Linked DNA regions of Homo sapiens: region 1 is linked to region 2. Evidence: promoter capture Hi-C in human tissues and cell types (Jung and others, 2019). All regions are on one chromosome and are shown on one strand. Each heading gives the region's core, a stretch centred on a gene start or on the middle of the fragment in contact. The rest is flanking DNA. Distances are from core to core; before and after follow the strand shown. Region 1 has its middle 12 kb from the start of MCHR1. Region 2 holds the start of CHADL (chondroadherin like).

Region 1 (4,323 bases), core at 651-3,150, 550 kb after region 2:
GGCCAAGGCAGGCGGATCATGAGGTCAGGAGATCGAGACCATCCTGGCTAACATGGTGAAACCCCGTCTCTACTAACAATACAAAAAATTAGCCGGGTGTGGAAGCGGGCGCCTGTAGTCTCCGCTACTCGGGAGGCTGAGGCAGGAGAATTGCTTGAACCCGGGAGGCGGAGGTTGCAGTGAGCCGAGATCGTGCCACTGCACTCCAGCCTGCCAATACAGCGAGACTCGGTCTCAAATAAATAAATAAATAAATAAATAAATAAATCTCCTCCCACAAATCTGATTCCCCTTCAGTTTCCCTATTTCAATCAATGGCCCCTCCATCCTCCATCACACGTGCCATCAACACATTCCACTTCACCCTCCACATCCAGCTCTTCCCAATGTCTGTGGCTTCTCCTTTACAAACACATCTCATATGTGTCCACCTCTCGCCGCCTCCACTGCCACCACCCTAATCCAGGCCGTTACCATTGCTGCTGTACAGGGTCGCCTGGTCTCCAGGGTCGGTGGGTCTCCTTGCTTTCATTTTCCACCTGCTTCTATCCCATTCTCTATACAGAATCTATAGTGATGATTTAAGGATGAAAATCTAATCATATTGAGGCAGGATAATAGGGAATTAGGGTAACCATGGGTTAAGGCATAAGCAAAAGAACAGCAGATGCAGCCAGTTCTAGGCAAGACTGGGCTGCACACAGGCCGCACCCTCACTCCTATGATAACAAGACAGAAGTTTCCACTTCAGCCTCTGATTGGTCGTGGGCCAATCCTTCATAAGGTGTAACCAACTGGAGGCCTCTAAAGGGCACCTAGGGGTGTTACCAAATTCTTTTTTTCTTTTCTTTTTCTTTTTTTTTTTTTTTTTTTGAGACGGAGTTTCGCTCTTGTTGCCCAGGCTGGAGCGCAATGGCGAGATCTTGGCTCACCACAACCTCCAACTCCTTGGTTCAAGCGATTCTCCTGCCTCAGCCTCTGGAGTAGCTGGGATTATAGGCATGTGCCACCACGCCCAGCTAATTTTGCATTTTTAGTAGAGACCGGGTTTCACCATGTTGGCCAGGCTGGTCTTGAACTCCCAATCTCAGGTAATCTGGCCGCCTTGGCCTCCCAAAGTCCCGGGATTACAGGCGTGAGACACCGCGCCCAGCCACCAAATTCTTTTAGCTTAATAAAAACCCTAAAGAACATTGTAATCGGGACTTTTAACCCACTTGCTTGAGCCGGCTCACGCTCTGTACTTTCACGTCAATAAATCTGCGCTTTCGTTGCTTGTTTCTTCTTTTGTTGCTTCGTTCTTTCATTGCTTTGTGTGTTTTGTTTAATTCTTTGTTCAATGTGCCAAGAATCTGGACAACTTACAGTCAAGACCTTCTATCCAGTAACAATATCATTCCTATGTGGAAAGCCTTTTGATGATTTCTCTTGGCTTTGGTATAAAATCCAAAATCATTGATGTGGTTCACAAAGCTCTATTTGATGAGCTGGACCCAGGGATATGAAATTAAATGTCTGTATGGTACAGGCAAGTGACTTAAGTAAATAAAGCTGGCTGAGTCAAGGGGACAATAGGGAGGAGTGGAGACTGTGGCAAACTGGGGAGTGCATGACTGCCTAAGAGTGTAGCTTCTTGCATCCAGCAGACTGTTGGCACATGGGAAGGTAAACCCTGTAGCCAGATCTTCTGATATTTCAAGGGAAGCTGGTCACCCAGATTTTTAAGTAAAGCTATGGATTCAAAAGCTGGCAACTAATTCACAATCTTTTTTATACCATGCAAGAGAAAAACAAAAAACCACATCTGTGGGTTGGATGAACTTCTCAGCAGCCAAATGTTGGATTCTACTCTATACTCTAAAGATCCTGGACAGAACTTCTGTTAGAAGATTACTAATACTTTTTCTTTTTCTTTTTTCTTTTCTTTCTTTTTTTTTTTTTTTTTTTTTTTTTTTTTTGATACAAGCTCTCACTCTGTTGCCTAGGTTGGAAGGCAGTGGTGCAATCTCAGCTCACTGCAGCCTTTATCTCCTGGGCTCAAGTGATCCTCCCCCCACCTCAGCCTCCCAAGTAGCTGGGTCTACAGGCATGCTCTCACCATGCCCAACTAATTTCTGTATTTTTCGTAGAGACGGGGTTTTGCCATGTTGCCCAGACTGGTCTTGAATTCCTGAACTTATGCAATCCACCCATCTCAGCCTCCCAAAGTGCCAGGATTACAGGAGTGAGCCACCATGCTCAGCCAGAAAAATTACTAATACTTTTGTTGGACAAGCATTTAACAGGTTTTTTTTGAGGGTGGTGTGCAAAGATAAAGCGTCTCTTCTCCCCCTTTCGCCAGTAAGAGAGACTGAGGCACAGAGGAATACGCTGTGGTGCGTAATACAGTGAAGGGGCGTCTTCCTTGGCATGAACTATTTTGCCTTGTACACTGAATTGTGGATTTTCTCCAGGTTAGCCAGAAGAGGGGAGTTTTGGAGATCCTGGAACTGGGAGGAGAGAGGAAATGGGAAATGGGAAAAGGGGTCTCACCCAGTGTCTATGGCTCGGACCTGGGACAGCAGGCCAGGCCTGGGAGGGCAGGATGGCCTCTCCCCACAATGACAGAATGCAACAGGCAGACTGCAGGGATTGTGAGGACTGCCAGCCAACTCCAGTGCTATCCGATTCTGGACTGTCACCCGCCCCCCACCTTCCCTGCTTTGACAATCCCCAGCCCCAGCCTCGGGCTTGCACTAGCACTGGCTGCCTTGGGGGGAAGCACCTGCAGAGAGGTAGAGCAGCTTGGAGAGGTAGTGACCAGCCAAGCAATGACCTGAGCCCGAGGCAGCAGGTAACCACACAGAGATATTTGGGAAGGCACTGGCTGGCCCATCGCCTCGCAGGATGGAGACTTAAGTGGGTTTATATGAATGTTATTTCCGGTTAAGGTGTCCCTGGGAGCACTTGGGTTACACTTGCAACATCTCATTTAATCATCCTGATTTTACACCCCCTGAGCTAGGTGATATCGAGGTGCAAGTCTAGGGATTTCCCTGCCTTTCTGGGGAGAGAAGGGGCACAGGATCTCTGACGGGGAGAGCCCTGAGAGGAGAAAGCTTCGAAGAGAGGCAGCCGGGGGATGGAAGCCCGATCTGCTTTGACGGATTCAAGAGGGAGCAGTGACTCTTTTCTTTTGGGTGTTGCCCTTCTGTGTAGTCCAAGATCACCACCATTCATCACAAATGGAGGAGACAGCTTTGCAGAGAATTAAGTGAGTGGCTTATCCATCCCATGTCTGACCATCTGGAAGGTTCCTCCCTCGGCTGTCCTCAGGATTAGATCTGAGGTTGGTGTACTCCAGTGAGGTTGTGTGGCAGGCCAGGTCCCACTCATGCAGGCCTCCATAACAACAGTTTCAGTACTGACTGAGTGGTTAAGTTAAATATTAAAAGATGGCTGAGCGCAGTGGCTCACACCTGTAATCCCAGCACTTTGGGAGGCCAAAGCAGGTTGATCACCTGAGGTCAGGAGTTCGAGACCAGCCTGGCCAACATAGTGAAACATCGTCTCTACTAAAAATATAAAAATTAGCTGGGCATGGTGGCACGCACCTGTAATCTCAGCTACTCTAGAGGCTGAGGCAGGAGAATCTCTTGAACCTAGGAGGCGGCAATTGCAGTGAGCCAAGATCTCACCATTGCACTCCAGCTGTGGGTGACAGAGCAAGACTCTTGTCTCAAAAAAAAAATAAAAATAAAAATAAAAATAAAAAAATAAAAAATTGCTGAAAGAGCCAGTGTGCTTATACAAAGGCTGGAATGTAACAAAAGTTCACCAAGAGTTTTGCCTAGGCCTTTCCTGGGCCTTAAAGCATGACAAAATAATGAAGGAATTCTTAACAGGACCCATTTAGGATTAAACAAATTTTATTGTGGGTCTGAAGAAACACCCCAGGCCTCCACAAACAAGTTTACTAGGGGTCTGAAGGAACTCCCCAAACCTCCATGATTTAGCAGGAGACAAGATAAGGGTAATCACCTCGCACTTGGACCCATTTAGATTAAGTAAATTTACTGAGGCTCCAGAGGAAGGTCTTCAGGACTTAGACCTTAGTTATAGATTAAAATAAGTTAATCAGGGCTGGGCGCGGTGGCTCACGCCTGTAATCCCAGCACTTTGGGAGGCTGTAGGCAGGCGGATCACGAGGTCAGGAGTTCAAGACCAGCCTGACCAACATGGTAAAACACCCATCTCTACTAAAAATACAAAAAAGAAAAAAATTAGCCGGGTGTGGTGGCACGCACCTGTAATCCCAGCTACTCAGGAGGCTGAGGCAGGAGA
Region 2 (4,226 bases), core at 1,087-3,586:
GTTGAGGCGGGCGGATCACTTGAGGTCAGGAGTTTGTGACCTGCCTGGCCAATATGGTGAGACCCGTCTCTACTAAAAATACAAAAATTAGCTGGGTGTGGTGGCGGGTGCCTGTAATCCCAGCTACTCGGGAAGCTGAAGCAGAATTCCTTGAACCTGGGAGGCGGAGGTTGCAGTGAGCTGAGATCACGCCACTGTACTCTAGCCTGGGCAACGAGAGCTAGACTCCGTCTCAAAAAAAAAATAAAAAGATGATTCTCACTAACATAATATTGAGTGGAAAACGCCAGACACAGCCAGGTGCAGTGGCTCATGCCTGTAATCCTAACGCTTTGGGAGGCCGAGGTGGGAGGATCACTTGTGCCCCGGAGTTCAAGACCAGCCTGGACAACATAGCAAGACCCCAACTCTACAACAAATTTTAAAACCAGCTGGAGGTGGCGGTGCATATCTGGAGGTCCCAGCTGCTTGGGAGGCTGGTATGTCAAGGCCGCAGTGAGCCATGATCACACTTCACTCACACCTGGGCAACAGTGAGACCCTGTCTCAAAAAAAGGACGAAAGAGCACACTGAAGTTCCATTGATTGGAATTTGCCAAGCAAAAAAAGCACAAAGCAGATGGCTGTGTGGCATGGCACTATTTCTTTTTTTAAAATGTTACTGCAGGGCTGGGCGTGGTGACTCATGCCTGTAATCCCAGCACTTTGGGAGATCAAGGCGGGCAGATCACTTGAGGTCAGGAGTTCGGGACCGGCCTGGCCAACATGGCGAAACCCCGTCTCTACTAAAAATGCAAAAATTAACCAGATGTGGTGGTACACATCTGTCATCCCAGCTACTTGGGAAGCTGAGGCAGGAGAATCGCATGAACCAGGGAGGTGGAGGTTGCAGTGAGCTCCAGCCTGGGCGATAAAGTGAGACTCTGTCTCAAAAAACAAAAAACTCCTGCAGTCTAGGAAAAGTACACACAGATGTTCATTGTTTAACATATATAAATATATATAAACATATACATTTATATTTTTATTATATATAAATATATACACACATAAGTGTATACACACACACATACATATATATATATATATATATATATATATATATATATATATATATATATATGTATATATTTTTTTTCTTTTTTGAGACAGTTTCACTCTGTTGCCCAGGCTAGAGTGCAGTGGCGCCATCTCGGCTCTCGCGTTCATGCCATTTGCCTGCCTCAGCCTCCCAAGTAGCTGGGACTACAGGCGCCTGCCACCACACCCGGCTAATTTTTTGTACTTTTAGTAGAGATAGGGTTTCACTGTGTTAGCCAGGATGGTCTTGATCTCGACCTCGTGATCCACCCGCCTCCGCCTCCCAAAGTGCTGGGATTACAGGCGTGAGCCACCGCGCCCGGCCTTTTTTTTTTCTCTTGAGACAGAGTCTGTGTTGCCCAGGCTGGTCTCAAACTCCTGGGCTCAAGTGATCCTCCCACCTCAGCCTCCCAAAGTGCTGGGATTACAGGCATGAGCCACTGTGCCTGACCCCTGTTTCCAATTAAAGGAACAAACAGTAGAAGATGCAATTCCATCAGAAGCAGGAATCTGAAAAATCAAGATACATGAACATTGGCCATGGTCTGGATGTATTATTTAAAAAACAAACACGAGCTTGGGAAGATGCGTATTTGGATATTCTTTGCAATATTGTTTGTAAATAGCAAAAAATTGGAGGTAGCCAATGTCCAAGATGAATGGCTAAGTCAATGTGATACATTTACACAATGGAATACTATATACCACAGAATAATGAGATTCGGAAGAGTCAATTTGGATAACTCCCAGTAATCTGAGGTTAAGTGAAAAAAATGAGTGTCTAGAATCCTGTGTGTCCAGTATTAAACTATTTATGTCAATGTGTAAGCACAAACGGAAGGAAAGGGTCACCTGTTCTGAAGCACCCACTGTGTGCCAGGTGCGGGCCTGAACCCCCACTGTGACCTCAGAGCTACTTATTAATGGGATGTGTTTTTCAGAGACTAGGAAGCAGCCTCTGGGAGGGCAGCCCACATGGCAGGAGGGAGCCCAGGACTGCTGACTCCCGGGCCAGCTGCTGGTGCCCCCTCCCTGTCGGGCTGGCCCAAGGATTCAGGCCGGGGCCTCAGTCCTCGGCTGGGGCAGGCAGGAGGCCCTGTAACTCCAGCCGCTGCTCCCGCCCGCCGCCCGCCCCTTCTTCACCTCAGCCTGGGGAAGCCTGGCTTGCCTGGTCTGCCGACAATGCCTCCCATTCAGCCCTGTCCCAGCTGCCAGGCCTGCGGGCCGTGGAGGGGGGCTCCTGCCAGGCGGGGACAGCCTGTCCCTGCGCTGCGCCTCCAGGCTGGACCAGCAGTTCCAGGCGGCATGGAGGGGTGAGTCTTTGGGCCCGATGGTGCAAGGGGGGATTCAGAGCAGCTCAGTGGCCTCAGGTAAGTCTCTGCCCCCTCTGGGCCTCTCAGAGGCTGGCGGGCAGGGGCTCTGGGGACTTCCTGGGGTTCTCCAGGAAGGGGGTCTCCCAAGGTGGGCTCTGAGACACGTGGCAATGTGGCCACTGCCAGGAACTGGTCCTCTGGGGCTTGTCTGAGAGCCCAGCAGTGGTCCCTGCATTATGAATGCTTGTCGCTTCAGCGATCTGTCCCCATGGGTCCCCTCCCTGGCCTGCCCTGAGGCACAGCCTTCACCACAGGCTCTGGAGAAGCCACCAACTCCAACGCAGGGGCTGGAGCCTGGGACCCAAAGGAGACTCCAAAACAGACGATAGTCCAGTGAGCAGCGAGGGGGAGGCTCCTGGGGGCCGGGGAACAGCCCAGCGATGGGGGAGAGGCCATGCCTGACACAGGCTGAGAACAGAGGGGCCAGCTGGGCAGGGGAGGTGATCTATCATCCTAGCGCTTTGGGAGGCCAAGGTGGGACAATCACTTGAGGCCAGGAGTTCAAGACCAGCCCGGGCAACATAGCGAGACCCTGTCTCTACCAGAAGTAATTAAAAAATTAGCCAGGCGTGGTGGTGTGTGCCTGTAGTCCCAGCTACTCAAGAGGCTGAGGTGAGAGGATCACTTTAGCCCAGGAGGTGAAGGCTGCAGTAAGCCATAGTCATTCCACTGCACTCCAGACTCCAGCCTGGGCAACAGAGCAAGGCTTGTCTCTATTTAAACAAACAAACAAAAAAAGACTCAAGGACCCGGACTGGATGCCTCCCTCCTTTCTGGGGGGTACCATTATGCTCCTGCCACCTGGGAGCTGGCATCATATCAGTCTGAGGACAGGCTGCTTCCGAGCCTACCCTGGACCAGAGCCTCACCACAGCCTGAGAACATGCTCTGAACTGGAGTCATTCTCACAGTCAGCAAGTCCTCACTGAGCCATTGGGCAGAGGCAAAGGGACTAACCAGGTCACTTTTCTGAGCCTCGGTTTCCTCCCATGTAAAACAGGACTAATCATAGGACCTCCACTGCGTGGGGGGTGGGGGGCAGGGAGGCTCAGGGTGATTGGCACTTTCCTGGGCCCAAAGGAGGAGGCTCTGAGGGGTTTTTGGGGCAGGAGCTGCACCATGGCTGGGACTAAGTGAGGGACAGCATGTGGCCTCGGCCCTTGTGCACAACAGACTCTCCCTCCCCGTCCCAGGCCCCGGAGCTCCACCCATGTCCCCTTGGTGCTGCCGCTTCTTGTACTTCTGCTGCTGGCCCCGGCTAGGCAGGCCGCCGCCCAGCGCTGCCCACAGGCCTGCATCTGTGACAACTCCAGGCGACACGTTGCCTGCCGGTACCAGAACCTCACTGAGGTGCCAGACGCCATCCCTGAGGTCAGCAGGGCAGGAGCACAGGCACAGAGTGGCAGTGGGGCAAGGTGGGGACCCAGAGGGAGGAGCCTGGGCTGGGCACCAGTTGATCTGCCACCGCCTGCCCGGGAGACCTTGGCAAATTACTTCTCTTTGAGCCTCAGTTTACACTTCTGTAAAATGGGAATAATAAAAACCAGTAACAGGGAGATGATCTATTTAAAATCCTTACTGTGTGAATGGAATAAGTAGGTGACCCATAGATCGATACTGAATTCACTGCAGACCCTGTGGTGGAGAGGCGGGCTGTGGCAGGGTGAGGTGTGGTCTCTGCTCTGCAGAGTCATCAGCTAGTGGAGGAGAGAGAGCGAGGAGGCAGGGACAGCACAGTGTGAAAAATGCCACAGTGGGTGATGCCCAGGGCAC

What was found. Contacts are between HindIII fragments. The study calls those that stand out against the background at their distance.
Region 1: a contact is called between a fragment that was not itself captured here and the fragment with the promoter of CHADL in region 2, in 1 of the 25 tissues and cell types used here (lymphoblastoid cells).

What each region holds. Positions count from the first base shown.
Region 1 is chr22:40,688,981-40,693,303 of GRCh38, reverse strand. No RefSeq gene overlaps it. Among named protein-coding and RNA genes, the nearest start is that of MCHR1, 12 kb to the right of the region's middle. The HindIII fragment of the contact is 4,122 bases long and covers 1-3,961 here.
Region 2 is chr22:41,239,041-41,243,266 of GRCh38, reverse strand. It overlaps CHADL (chondroadherin like), which reads left to right and starts at 2,336. Exons shown (of 6, transcript NM_138481.2): 1 at 2,336-2,393; 2 at 3,647-3,824. The coding sequence starts at 2,386. RefSeq lists enhancers at 1,732-2,232, 2,233-2,733, 4,183-4,226. The HindIII fragment of the contact is 27,215 bases long and covers 1-4,226 here.